2 separate regions of the Homo sapiens genome follow, and region 1 is linked to region 2. The links are contacts of gene promoters, found by promoter capture Hi-C in blood cells and fetal thymus (Javierre and others, 2016). All regions are on one chromosome and are shown on one strand. Each heading gives the region's core, a stretch centred on a gene start or on the middle of the fragment in contact. The rest is flanking DNA. Distances are from core to core; before and after follow the strand shown. Region 1 holds the start of LINC00574 (long intergenic non-protein coding RNA 574). Region 2 holds the start of PSMB1 (proteasome 20S subunit beta 1).

What was found. Contacts are between HindIII fragments. The CHiCAGO score rates a contact against its expected background, and 5 or more counts as called.
Region 1: a fragment that was not itself captured here is called in contact with the fragment with the promoter of PSMB1 in region 2 in 11 of 17 cell types (activated CD4 T cells, naive CD8 T cells, total CD4 T cells and 8 more); the score reaches 9.2 in activated CD4 T cells.

What each region holds. Positions count from the first base shown.
Region 1 is chr6:169,788,759-169,795,394 of GRCh38, forward strand. LINC00242 (long intergenic non-protein coding RNA 242) reads right to left here. Exons shown (of 2, transcript NR_026781.1): 2 at 32-2,360. LINC00574 (long intergenic non-protein coding RNA 574) reads left to right here and starts at 1,315. Exons shown (of 3, transcript NR_026780.1): 1 at 1,315-1,658; 2 at 6,426-6,604. The HindIII fragment of the contact is 997 bases long and covers 4,218-5,214 here.
Region 2 is chr6:170,551,945-170,558,013 of GRCh38, forward strand. It overlaps PSMB1 (proteasome 20S subunit beta 1), which reads right to left and starts at 1,363. Exons shown (of 6, transcript NM_002793.4): 1 at 1,186-1,363. The coding sequence starts at 1,298. TBP (TATA-box binding protein) reads left to right here and starts at 2,425. Exons shown (of 8, transcript NM_003194.5): 1 at 2,425-2,519; 2 at 4,938-5,139. The coding sequence starts at 5,086. RefSeq lists enhancers at 1,116-1,495, 2,306-2,695. The HindIII fragment of the contact is 7,721 bases long and covers 1-3,550 here.

The DNA of each region.
Region 1 (6,636 bases), core at 3,466-5,965, 760 kb before region 2:
TTGTTTTTATCCAAGCACCACAACTGCTTTTAGTTACTATATCTTTTATTTTTAAAATCTGGAATAGCTCCCTTTTTGTTTTTTTTCTTTCTGTGTCAGAGACATTTTTGAAGTATTTATGTCACCTTTACAGAATGTTCATCAATTGGCTTTTGTTAGATTGTTTCCTCAAATTTGACAGTTTTAAAGAAACACTGCATCCATGATACTGTCTGAACCAGTGCATCACATCAAGACACATGATTGACACAATAATGCTGTGTGCCACTCGCTGCATCACAGCAGGACACATGAGGCACATATGTGCTGCTGTGCATTCCTCAGTGAATATTGCAGGACGTGTGGGTGGGGCCAGGTGTTGTCAAGGTCCCGGCAGGTCGCTCTGCCCTCTAAACACAATGGCTGGATGGGCGGTGGACACCTGCTCTGCGGAGCCTGGGCAGCAGCTGAAGATGATGTGGGGAGGGGCTGCTCAGCTGGGGCTGGAAGGTGAGGACAGGGCTGGGCTGGCCGCCTTGTGGAGATAGCAGGACTTGTTGAGGGAAAGTCAGGCCAGGGATGCAAACCAAAGCCTGAGGAGAAACTGCAGGGCCGTGCATGGCCTCAGCTCCCTTTCTGAGGCTCCGTTGATGTGAGTGCTTTCAACAAGCCCTCCAGGGAATCTCTGCTGCTTGCAACCAAAAAGTAGTGACCACTGGAAGAGCCAGCCCCTGCGAGAGGACAGAGGCATGGCCGCCATCAAGAGGCAGGCAAACCCCAGAGAAGGAGGCCACGGACTTGGCAGTGGACGACCGGTGTGCGATCTCAGTGCCACAGGTTACTGGTTTTGTGGCAAGATGTGTACCTGCTGACAGCATGGCTTCCTCGTCTGCAGAGTGTGACAGTGACATTCCCTGCCTCATTAGACGTTAGGATACAGTGAGGCGCCGTGCTCAGCCCCATTCTGGCACGTAGCATCGATAAACACCAGCTCTTACCGGACCGTTCCCTTATGCTGGGAGGAAAGAAACGATTTGGATTTCCTCTGTCTAGAAGTCCAGCTATCTGCATGTGTGTTCAGAGGACGTTCTCGTATCTCAGGAGTGAAACCAAAGCATCCTGTACATCTTTCCCCCACCCCCACTCATAGCCTCGGATTCTCTGCACAGCTTTAGTAAAGGAGCTGATGGGGAATCGGATGCCTGACCCCGAGTCCTCACTCTGGGGCTCGAGCTTAGGATAACTTCAGGTTCAGCTGAGGCCTCTGAACTGTGACTCCGCCCCGTGGCCGCATGCGTCGGAACTCCTACCTGCCCTTTGCCCTTCTCGAGGCCGGTGCTTGACTGGAGGAGGGCTGGCAGCAGAAGTGCAGCTGACCGGGTTGCGTTTTCGTACGGCTGACTAAAGCGGATACCGGTGGCGACTCATTTCTCGTTTTATTTTTCAACGATTTGGCGGAGAAGCTCCTCTTGTGAATGGACTTTGGATTTCTTGGAGCTGCGCTGCGGGTCCCACAGTGTGGCTTTCGGCCCGTGCTGTGCTGGCGCCTGCACTTCCTCTGGCGGGGCACGGGGTGGCGCTCCCTGGTAAAGCAGCGGCCAGGGGGAGCCGTGAGTGAGGCGCTGCCTCTCCCGCTGAAGCGGGTTCCAAGGCCACCGTGAGGGGGACCATCCATCCAGGTAAAACGTGTTCTTTCCTTGTTCCTTTGCGAATCGATGGGGATCAGGCTTCCCCAGGTGGTGAAGTGAGGAACAGGGACCGCGGGGCTCGCCTGACCAGTGGGGTCTCCATCCTTGTCCGTGCTGACAAAAGACAAGAACAGACAGCGCCTGAAATCTTCCCGCCTCCGTGAGGGAAGCCTGCGTCTGGGAACGCGCCGCAGGGAAGTGATCCCTGAGTGAGGGAGGAGGTGCCGGGGCATCATTAATCAGACCTCAATGCCGGGAAGGTTCTTTGTTTAAAGAAACACTCATGTTTAAAGAGCACTTGGTGCGGACTTGCTGTGGCCATCGCCCTCAACAGCTCATCTTTAGGAGGTGCAGGCTGAATTCACGCCTCGGTGTCGTCCATGTCTGCCTGCCGCGCAGAGGAGACAGCGAGAGGCCTTCCCACCGCACGGCTTTTACGGGAAGCTCTTCGCATTGGCTACAGGGGTGTGGTTTGGTTTATAGCCACACCAAGTAATTTTAATAGAACTCAATAACTGTGTTGCCTTGCAGGCTCCGAGTGCTACAGGCAGACCCGAGTCCGAGTCTTCCTACGGTTCATTGTCCCCCCCTGGATTTCCTAGGGACTCCAGATACGATGGCATCGATGTCAGTTAACTTGGCACTTCTTAAAATAGATCTATGATCAAATCTTAAGTTTTTCCGAATAAGACTCTGGAGGAATGCAGGAAGGTCATTTGATTACTTTAAAATAAGAGGATTTTATGTTAAAATATTGAAAAAGCCAGTCATAAAACTAAGCTCTGTACCAATGAATATAGTTCGCGAAGCCAGCAGCACAGGCTTATTATTATAAATATCAAACACCACCATTATGAGTAAGCTCATTTATTTTCAAAGCACTTTGCGATCATTAATTGTTCACGTCTGTGAATACCCCCTGAGAGACAGTATTATTAACTGCATTTGAAAGGAAGAAAACTAAGGCACAGAAAACCCGTAATTCATTGTCCTGAGGGGAAAAGGAGACACCAGGAACACGGCTGTCCTTTCGCTGCATCTTCTCTTTGGTAGAGATCCAGGGACATCTGGAACATCCACCCTCTTTCTCCCACTCACGGCCATGCCACCACCTAGTGCCTCACTGACATTTCCTCTCAATCTCAGGATAATCACATCGATGTAACACTTGGCAGGTTTGTTATCTCAGTGTCTATTATCTCAAAAATTAATCCTAATAGCAACCTTAGAAAGAGGCAATATTAGCCCCATTTCATAGGAAAATGAAGGATCAGTGAGAAAGTGACAGGTCTGTCACTGGCAGTGCAGGGCAGGGCCATTGTGGTGAGTCAGGCCTCGGCTGCAGGTCTGAGTTTATGCCATTGCCCCCATCTGTGGGGTCTAGGAGGCTGTTGTCTAAGCAGAAGGCATGACCCATCAGGGGCCATGGGTGGTGGGCACAGAATTGAGTCATCTGACTGCCTTCCCACCCACCTGTATGTGTTCTTTGTTTTATTTAAGTCCTGTGAGGGTAGTTTAGGACCTTGTCCCTTCCCACAGCATAGCACAGAAAATTGGGCAAGTCCAGACCATGACTAAATCCACTTTAAAAAACCCACCCCCGCTGAGACCGGCGGATTCTCTCCCTCCCCACTTGAGATATGATGTTGCCTTAAATGGTCCAGCAGTCGCGGAGCCTCAGGGGGCCTCTCTGCCTTAGTTGGTGCATTCCAGTGCTGCTCGGTCTGTATTTCCAGATCTTGCTTTTATCCTTTTATTTTCTAGAGTAATTGATAATTCCAATCTATCTGGCCTGCATGAGATTTATAAAATAAATGGACAAAATAGAAAATAAATATTTTATGGAGCCACCACTGTGTGCAAGACATTCTGCTAGGGAGGCTGAAGGGTCCCACAGCTTCTAAGGACCGGTCCCTGGCCTAATGGAGCTCACAACAGATTGAGAAGGGAGGAGGGACACCGCTGACACAGCCCACGCTGCCCAGTGCCGGGTGCAGGAGAGGCAGTGGATGCAGGGGATTGTGGGCAGGGTGTGCTGGGCCTGGGCCCTGGCTCCCTTTGGGAGCCTCATGGCCGCTCTGCTGTCTTCCTCCGTGCATGGCCTGGGCCGCATTGTGTGCTGTGGAGTTATTGGATCAGACCTGGATGCTGCAACCCAAGGAGAGAGAGGAGGACAGAGCCCAGGAGAAGAACAGCACTCGGCAGCCTGACCCCTAAAAACCAAACACAACAGAAACCAAGCCAATGGCGATGGTTGAGAAGAACCAAGCCAGCGTGTAGGGGAGGCTAGGGTGGCACCCTGGGCATCCAGGGTGGAGGGACTCGAGGAAAGGAATGACCGGAAACACAGCTGGGGAGGCCCGGAAGGCCGGGGGCTCAGGCTGAACTCTCTTGGGGTTCCCAAGGGGCTGACGGGGAGTGAATTGTCAGAGGTGGTCAGAGCCACAGATTCCTGGGGGACATGTACTGTGGCTCAGGATGGAGAAAAGGTGGGCTGAGGTCGGGACGGTCGGTGCAGGTGGGTGCACGAAGGCGTCTGGAGGAGGAGAAAGCTTTACAGCCAATGTCCTGGAGGGGCCGCAGACAGGAGGCACCAGGTGCTGGAAACCCCAAGCTGTTCCTTTTCATCGACGAAGAGGGGAGTGGGAAACATAGGGCGAATTTCAGAGTCTACTGTAAAGAGGAAGGATTTACCTGCCATGGTGTTGCTGGGTGATCTGGGCAAAGCTAGGGGAGCTGGTTTATGAGAAGTGAAGAGATAGGGTGGGGAGGAGGAGATCTGGACCTGGGCTTGGGAAATGTGAGGGGATCCAACTGCGAGAGACCAGAGGCACCCTCAGGACAGTGGAGCCCAGTTCTTTTCTCTGCAAATAAATCTCAGTTTTCCACATCTCAACATGTGAGGCAGCTCACCCTAGTTTCTTGTTCTTTCTCTAAGAGAGTTTGGCCTTCCATTGCCTACAAATGGGAGAAAAGCTAATGGGGCTCACGTACATGGAGGGGAGTTCAGGATGAGGCTGGTGGTTCAGGCATCCTGTGAGCCCAAGGGGATGCCACCGGCCTTGTGGTGCTTACAGAGACATGCGGCAGCTGTGATCCACATTGAGGGTGAGAAACAAGTGTGAGACTACAGACACCTGAGAGGCACTGTGGGGGCAGCACCCCGCAGGCAGAGGCAAACGGTGGGCCTGCGGTTTCCCTTCCCATCTGGTGTCTGCTGGTGGCTGGCAACCCCATGCCAAGACCTTTGGTGCCTGCGCTGTCCCCACCCCCTTTTACCCAGGGCCCCTGATGTGCTCGGCTCTGCCTGGCATGAATCCCAACAACTCACCCTGCCTCCTGCTTGTGCGAAATGTGCAAACGTGAACTTGCCCAGTATTGAAGAGCTCAGGACCTTGAGTTCCGAGAGCCAGGGAGGAATACTTTGTTGTTCTTTAGACCCAACAAGCCAGATCTGTTAACGCCAAACCTTCATTCCCAAGACAACCCTCCCTTTTGATGGCCCTAAGGTGCTGCCCCCTAATTTCATGACTTCTGCCACTGCAAAAGCTTCCCAAATTCGTACTGAGGCCACGCCTTTCAGAGTGGATGCACGAAGGAGGGCGGTTCATCGGAAGTGAATCTGAGATTAAACCCATGTATCTTAGCTCCCCAGTGCTCCCCTTCATCATTTCTAGAACATACGTAATAGCATGTCCTGGTCTTCTTGGTGGTCTCCTTAGGGATATAGGGGAAGGGCAGTTTTCATATCAACTTTCTTTATGTTACCATGAATTAGCTGCTTGCTGAATAAACTTCTCAGACAAAAATCCCACACTTCCCGAGTATTCGCCCTTCCACACCACAGTCACTTGCTCTAGTGTTTGCACACAGTTACATTATTATCAAAACTGCAGTTCAACTAAATGCTCCAAGTGCAGGTGAAGGTCTGTCCTCAAGGTGCTGCTTGAAGCAGGTGACTGGAACAGTTCCAGGTCCCTGCTGTTCTGGGGTGTCAGCATCAGCTCCGTTCAGGGGTGACAGACAGCAAGGCCCCAGCCGGGAGAGGCCAAGGGGACGGGAGTGAGAGGGAGAGCTCAGAGGCAGGGCAGGAGCCTCAGGATGGGAGATGCCAGGGCCTTGGCAGGCGGCCACCCCAGGACCAGGCAGGCTCCCCAAGCCAGGGGTTCTTTCCCTTCCAAGAGCAGGACTGAAAGGAGGCTCAGGAGTAAGGGGCAAGGGCGGATGGTGGCAGGTGCAGGGGGTGAAGGGGCCCCGCCTGGGAAAAGATGGCAATGGAGCTCAAGGAAATAGAAGCAGCTACGTTGCCACGGTGGCCACAGTGCAGGAGCAGGTGCTGCTGGGGAGCTGGGCCCCAGGCTTTATCTACACTGTCTCACCGTAAGTCCGCTCCCGACTTGGCACCATTGTCTGACTCCACACATTGCCATAGCCCTGTCAGGCAGGTGCTTGCAAAGGCCACAGAGCTGTTGAGTGGGTGCAGGAGGGAAGCACACCAGGAATTTGGCCCTGGTCTGAGGCTGCAGGGGACAGCTGGCTGTGGTCAGCAGGGCCCGAACCCCGGCTCTGGAGCCTGCAAGCCACCCTGAGGGTGCAGAAATCTGAATGTCTGGGGCCATGTGCAGAGTGTGGCCAAGTCGTAGCTGTGGCTTCAGCATTCAGAGCCTCTGCCTCTACTGGGGATTAATGCAGGTTTCCAACATCTCTGTGTTTGGTCAGTGCTGATCTTTTTCCTAACTGGCGACTTATTGGTTCCAGGAGAGTACTGGGCAGGCTGCAAATGTCTGTGTTAAAACAGCTCTGCTGGGCTAAGACAGGACAGAAGCAGACAGCAGGTGGATGAGACACAATTTCCTATCCAGCAGAACCTGCAGCAAGCTCCACAGCACCCTCCATGGGCTCAGTCTTGCTCCCGGGAAGATGGTTAATTCCATCAGGTCAGTATTTCCACACCTCCCGAGCCTCCACT
Region 2 (6,069 bases), core at 113-2,612:
CAGAAGTACCCAAAGTGTCCTTTAGTGGCAGAACCAAGGCTAAAATCAGACTTTCGTTATCTTTCTAACACACTCCCAAAATGTGCATTTATATTTCAAATTTATGAGGAACCAATTAACATTTTTGCTTTGTTTTTAAAATTTATTTTTGTAGAGATGGGGTCTTGCTATGCTGCGCAGGCTGGTCTTCAACTCCTGGCCTCAAGCGATGATCCTCCTGCCTTGGCTTCCCAAAGTCCTGGGATTACAGGTGCGAGCCACACTGCCCAGCCAATATTTTCTGTTTTAAGAACCATCGGTTCGTTCAAATTGCGTGTGTATATTTTAATGTACAAGGCTTGATTGGTAACTATAACCACTGTTTCAATTTACAGCTCTTCCCTGTCAAGAGTCTTAAACAGAGCATCTTTCTATAACCCTAAATCTCTGGCGTGCCACCACGGAAAATTATACTACTCAAGATAAAGCTGGTAATTAAAATAAAAACCAAAACTTGAACATAACATACAAGAACACACATACTAAAAGGTCCATCTTCTGAGTATTTTGTTTTCCTGAACTTAAGCTAAACGTTAAAAAAAAAAAGCACTTATCTATGAAACTAAGTTTGCTCAGCCAATCCCACCTTCTATTTGAAATAAAACAAAATGATTAAACTGCTACAATTAGAAATAACAGAAATCAGGCGGCTACAATTAGACATCTCGGCTACCAACCCAGCTATGCATCTAACAACACAGACCAAACAACCCTAACTTTTAAGTTTCAGACGCTAACCCTCTACCCTCGCCGGCTGGCATAAGAAACGTGTACATGAGGTCCAGTTTTAATGGTCTTCCACAGAGCAGAGGCTATGTTTCAATTTCTACTTTACTGTCTTACAGCAGCAAGGAGCACGGAGTGGCGGTCCACATAAAAACTCAAATGACATGACTGTAATGGGAAACCCTAAAAACCAAGGCTGTATCGCAATCACCAAGTAAACTTGAGCAAAGCGAGCCTGAAGAGGGAAACACAGGGCATGAGAGGACGGCAGGGAGACCGGCCTTGTGCGGACCCCCTCAGCTCAGGGTTCTGAGGCCTGCAGGAGCCCGGGGCAGCGCCATCACGGCGGTGACTCCTAAATAGGCTTCAGCAGATGGGGGAAGGGCGAAAGTGAAAGCCGCAGCTCTCTGGGGTTTTTACCCTCCGTTGAAAACGTAGGGCGAAAATCGCAGCTGCAAAGGGCCCGCGGCTCTGTGCGGTTCCATCCCCAAGTCTCTGCCAGGAGCCGAATACATGGCTGTAGAGGACAACATCGCACGGCTGCGCCTGCGGATCCGACACTTGCTGTCTCACGGCGAGATGGCTGCCTTGACCGGACGTTACGCCACTTCCGGCTTCTCCTGAAGTTCGCTCCCGGCCTCTCTATCTCACGCTAGTCGTTGCTCCTGGAGGGCTGCACGGCGGCTTGTCCCTTTGGTAGTTGAATCCCGCCCATTCCAAAAAGCGCTGACAGGGATGTAAAGGGTTTTTTTTGTTTGTTTTTTGTTTTTTTCCCCCTCGAAGAAAACATTGGAATTCACCCCAATGGACAAAAATTTAAGTCTGACCATACAAAAAAATTGTCAGAACTATGGCGCAACGGCAACTCGAATAACGGTGGGAACGTTAATTGTCCTGGCTAATAAAAAATGTATATAACATTTCCTATCCTTAAAGAGCTCACAACCTCACTGATAATAAAAAGTACAAAGAAAACAAGCAGTATAACATATGATTACGCCACAATGAACTACAGAAGGGAAAATCAAGGCGTGCTGAAGTCCCACTAAGAAACAACTGCGGAAAGAGCCATGTGACAACAGTGCATGAACTGGGAGTGGCAGAACTGAATATAAATGCATGTGTAAACACAAGCTGTTTGTTTTGCTTAGTGTTCCTTGTCATTCTACACGCTTGAAGATCAGCTAGCGTTCTTGCTGACAGGTAAGGAGGACGCGCTTACTGAGTGCCAAGCACTGCTCAGGCACTGATTCTGTCAATCTCTGTCAATCTCCCGACAGCCCAAGGGTAAGCACTGTTATCATTATTCAATTTTACAGAAAAAAAATGCGGGGGAGAGGTCAGGTAACTTGTCGAAGGTAACGCCGCTAGTTGCTTTAAACAACAACAACAACAACAACAAAACACACTCACACATATACACACACACGCCATTTAAAAATCGATCTTTCCTACGTCCAGCAAGGGCCAATTAGAGATGGCTGTGGCACGGCGGCCCCGCCCCGGAACTCCTCAAGAGCTTCGCCCCTCCTTACCTATGGAAACACAGGAAGTGACCTATGCTCACACTTCTCATGGCCTCGGCCCTAGTGGGAGCAACTCGCTGAAGCCGAGGGCAGAACTGGCGGAAGTGACATTATCAACGCGCGCCAGGGGTTCAGTGAGGTCGGGCAGGTTCGCTGTGGCGGGCGCCTGGGCCGCCGGCTGTTTAACTTCGCTTCCGCTGGCCCATAGTGATCTTTGCAGTGACCCAGGTAACAGATTGTACTCTTTTCTGACGGTTCGGGCGAAGGCCACCACTGCACTGAGGCCTGGGGGCAATGGTGGGGAAGAGACTAGGAATTGGCGCGCGTGCAGGCCCCTCGGGGGACGTTCCTCCCTTTCGTGCTGCCGCCGTTCCGGCCTGTAACGGCCACTCGGCCGCCACTCCCGCCTGGTGCCCTACTCTGCTGTGTTTCGCAGGCAGCTTCCCATCGTACGATTGTGGGGCTCAGGGTACTACTGGCTGGCTGGGCGGCGGCAGGCGGGACAGGACAGTCCCTTGCATCGAAGACCCTAAGTTTACCCTGCCCTGTCCTGCCATCCGCTTCTTCTCCATGTTAGAAGCAGATTCACCCAGATCTGTGCCCGCCTGTTTTGCTGCCAACATTGAGACTTAAATATTTTGTCAGAAGCCTGAGACAGCGGGCACGGTAGCGCTTAAGATATAATACACACCACTTTATTTGCAGGGTCTCCCGTCTCTCGGTTCAGGCCATCATGGTTTTCCAAATCTCTAGGTAGACTTTTCTGTGAAAAGACTGTGCTTCATTTAGTTATACAGACACTAGAAGGCTATGCAGAATTAATTTGATTGCCTCCAAAAAATATCGGATTTGATGTTTCAATTTCCAGGAGATGAAGATACCCAGCAAACAACTCTTTTCTGAGGATAAATTAGTGCAGTAATCACTGTGCGGTTTCTTCTGTAGACTTACTTGCAAAAAGTGGCCTGAAGCCACCGAAGGTCCTGGATAAATCTCTAATCATACTTATAATGGCTTTAAATCCTGCCGTCATTATCTCTTGCCTCAACCTTAGATTCCTGAAACGAAACTTCCGTCCTCCAGTTTTACTCCTCTCAAATTCATCTAGTCTTGCCAAATTAGATCTGTTCATACTGCACTTCCGAAATTCCATAACTGTTATTATTGCCTATGCAATAACATTGAAAACTCCTGATAGTATGAGCCCACCAATATGTGCTGTCTCATCTGCTGCAGTGACCTTCTATACAGTCATACTAAGCTTGTTGCCTGCATACTGCATGCTTTTTCAATCTGTCTCTTTCTGCTTGATTTCTCTTTTGTCTGAAGCCCTGATGTGTAAATTCCTACTCACCTTGTGAGACCCAAGTTAGATGGTCCCTGCTTTGTGAAAACACTGCGCTCTCTTCACAGTGATTGGCTGTTAGTCTATATTGTCTTCTCTTCCAGGGGTGTATATGGGCTCATTCATGATCACATACTGTATTCCAGGCATAGTGCTAGATGCAGAGATCACAAAGACATGTAGGCTGGTTTCTGCATTCAAGGAACTTAGCTTAGACCATACCTGCTGTTATAATACTATGTTTTACAGTAGTTATTTGCATACCCTTCATATTGAACACTTTGATGCCAAGGACTATATCCTCCTATCTTTATATCCTCATCTGCAGGACTTCTGTTATTGTTATTATAGGATAACTGTCAAAAAAAAAGTATATTTTAAAAAATATCTCTGATATATTTATTTCCAGAAGCAGAGCTTGCTTTCTTTTTTGGTCTGTTTTTCAGTGATGAGTATGTAGGATAGATAGTCTTTGGGGGCCTTTGCCCTTTCAAAGTGATCGTCAGAGTCTTTCATACATTCAGCAAATATCTGAGTGTCTGTTCTGTACCAGCACATGCTTGAAGTGCATATGCCTGAAGGATCTTTGGACATATAATTTGTAACTTTGAGACCTCTAAGTTCTATGTGAGAATATGTTGTTATAAACTCATTTCAGATGTGTAGTGAGTAAAGCGATGATGATTTAAGAAAAGTCAGATAACAGGCACAGTTTGCATTAATGTGTTCTAAAGAGGTAAGGTTATTACATTTATAAAAATTCAGGGCTTTATCTTTGTGCGGCTTTTTTTTTTTTAACAGTTTCATTACAGTAGGAGCTTGATAAATGATCACTCTGAAGTATATTGGATTGAATTTGATATTTACTTAATTTTTTGCCCAAGACATTGTAGAGGATGTAAAATTGGAATATTTAAAGATCTAAACTTTGCCTAACAGTGCTGTGTATACAGTGCTTAGTGAATATTCTGCTCTGATATTACATTTTGCTTAGGAATTATTTTTCTCTAGGTGTTTTTCCTCAAAAGTTTTTAATGCTGGTTATGACAGCTCGATTTTGAGCATTTTCCGATTATTTAAACATGTAACAAAATGATTTTTGTTTTGTTGGCGATTTTACATGCAATCGCCGGAAACATGGAAGGAATAAAACTTTAGGATTATAAGGTAAAAACAAATGTATTCCAAAATAGCTTCATTGGTTTTCATGTTTGTGTTTTGTATAGCCATAGAACTGGCTTATAGGACTGTACAGGTTACCTGGATCCTTAAATTAAACTTTAGACTTTTTTCCAAAGCAGCATCACTGTTTCTTGGCGTGTGAAGATAACCCAAGGAATTGAGGAAGTTGCTGAGAAGAGTGTGCTGGAGATGCTCTAGGAAAAAATTGAATAGTGAGACGAGTTCCAGCGCAAGGGTTTCTGGTTTGCCAAGAAGAAAGTGAACATCATGGATCAGAACAACAGCCTGCCACCTTACGCTCAGGGCTTGGCCTCCCCTCAGGTAATATAGCAGGAGGGAGAGAATAGGGAGGGCGGAAATCTGAACTGCAAGAGATGGTATCAAAAGGCAAGGAAGGGCATTTAATGATCTGTTTTTGAAAATGGTTTAATATGTTTTTTAAGCCTTATTTTGTTGAGAAGTTCTATTAGGCTTTGAATAGGCACAATGGTGTTTATTTGGGAAGTCTGGAAGCTAAGTTATATATTTATGAAACACCTAATCTTTTGATAAACACTTATGAGAATGTTCCAAATGACTATATAGGGTCTTTGATTTTGAAAATCACCCTCACCAAATTATTTTCTAGTTTTATTTTTCCCCTTTTACATTTCAAGCTCTCAACCACCCATCTACTTTAAAAATTTTTCAGCCTGGGTGCAGTGGCTCACGCCTGTAATCCCAGCACTTTGGGAGGCCAAGGTGGGCGGATCACCTGAGGTCAGGAGTTCGAGACCAGCCTGGCCAACGTGGTGAAACCTCATCTCTACAAAATATACAAAAATTAGCCAGGTGTTGTGGCGGGTGCCTGTAATCCCAGCTACTCGGGAGGCTGAGGCAAGGAGAATTGCTTGAACCCGGGAGGTGGAGGTTGCAGTGAGCAGAGGTCGTGCCACTGCACTCCAGCCTGGGAGACAGAGCGAGACTCTGTCTCAAAAAAAAAAAAAAAAAAAAAAAAATCAATAACTTTTGTTGAAATATACATACAAAAAAACTCATTTTAAGTGTCTGTTTTGATAATTATATATAATGTATAAATTACAGAACATTTCAGTTACCTTAAAAAGTCCCTTCTTCCCCTTTATAGTCACTCTGCTGGCCCCAGGTAACTACTGCATCTGCTTTTCAATGCTGAAGATTAGTTTTGTCTATTCTAGAATTTCATATAGATGGAATCAGAGTGTATGCTTTTTTGTGTATGTCTGACTTCTT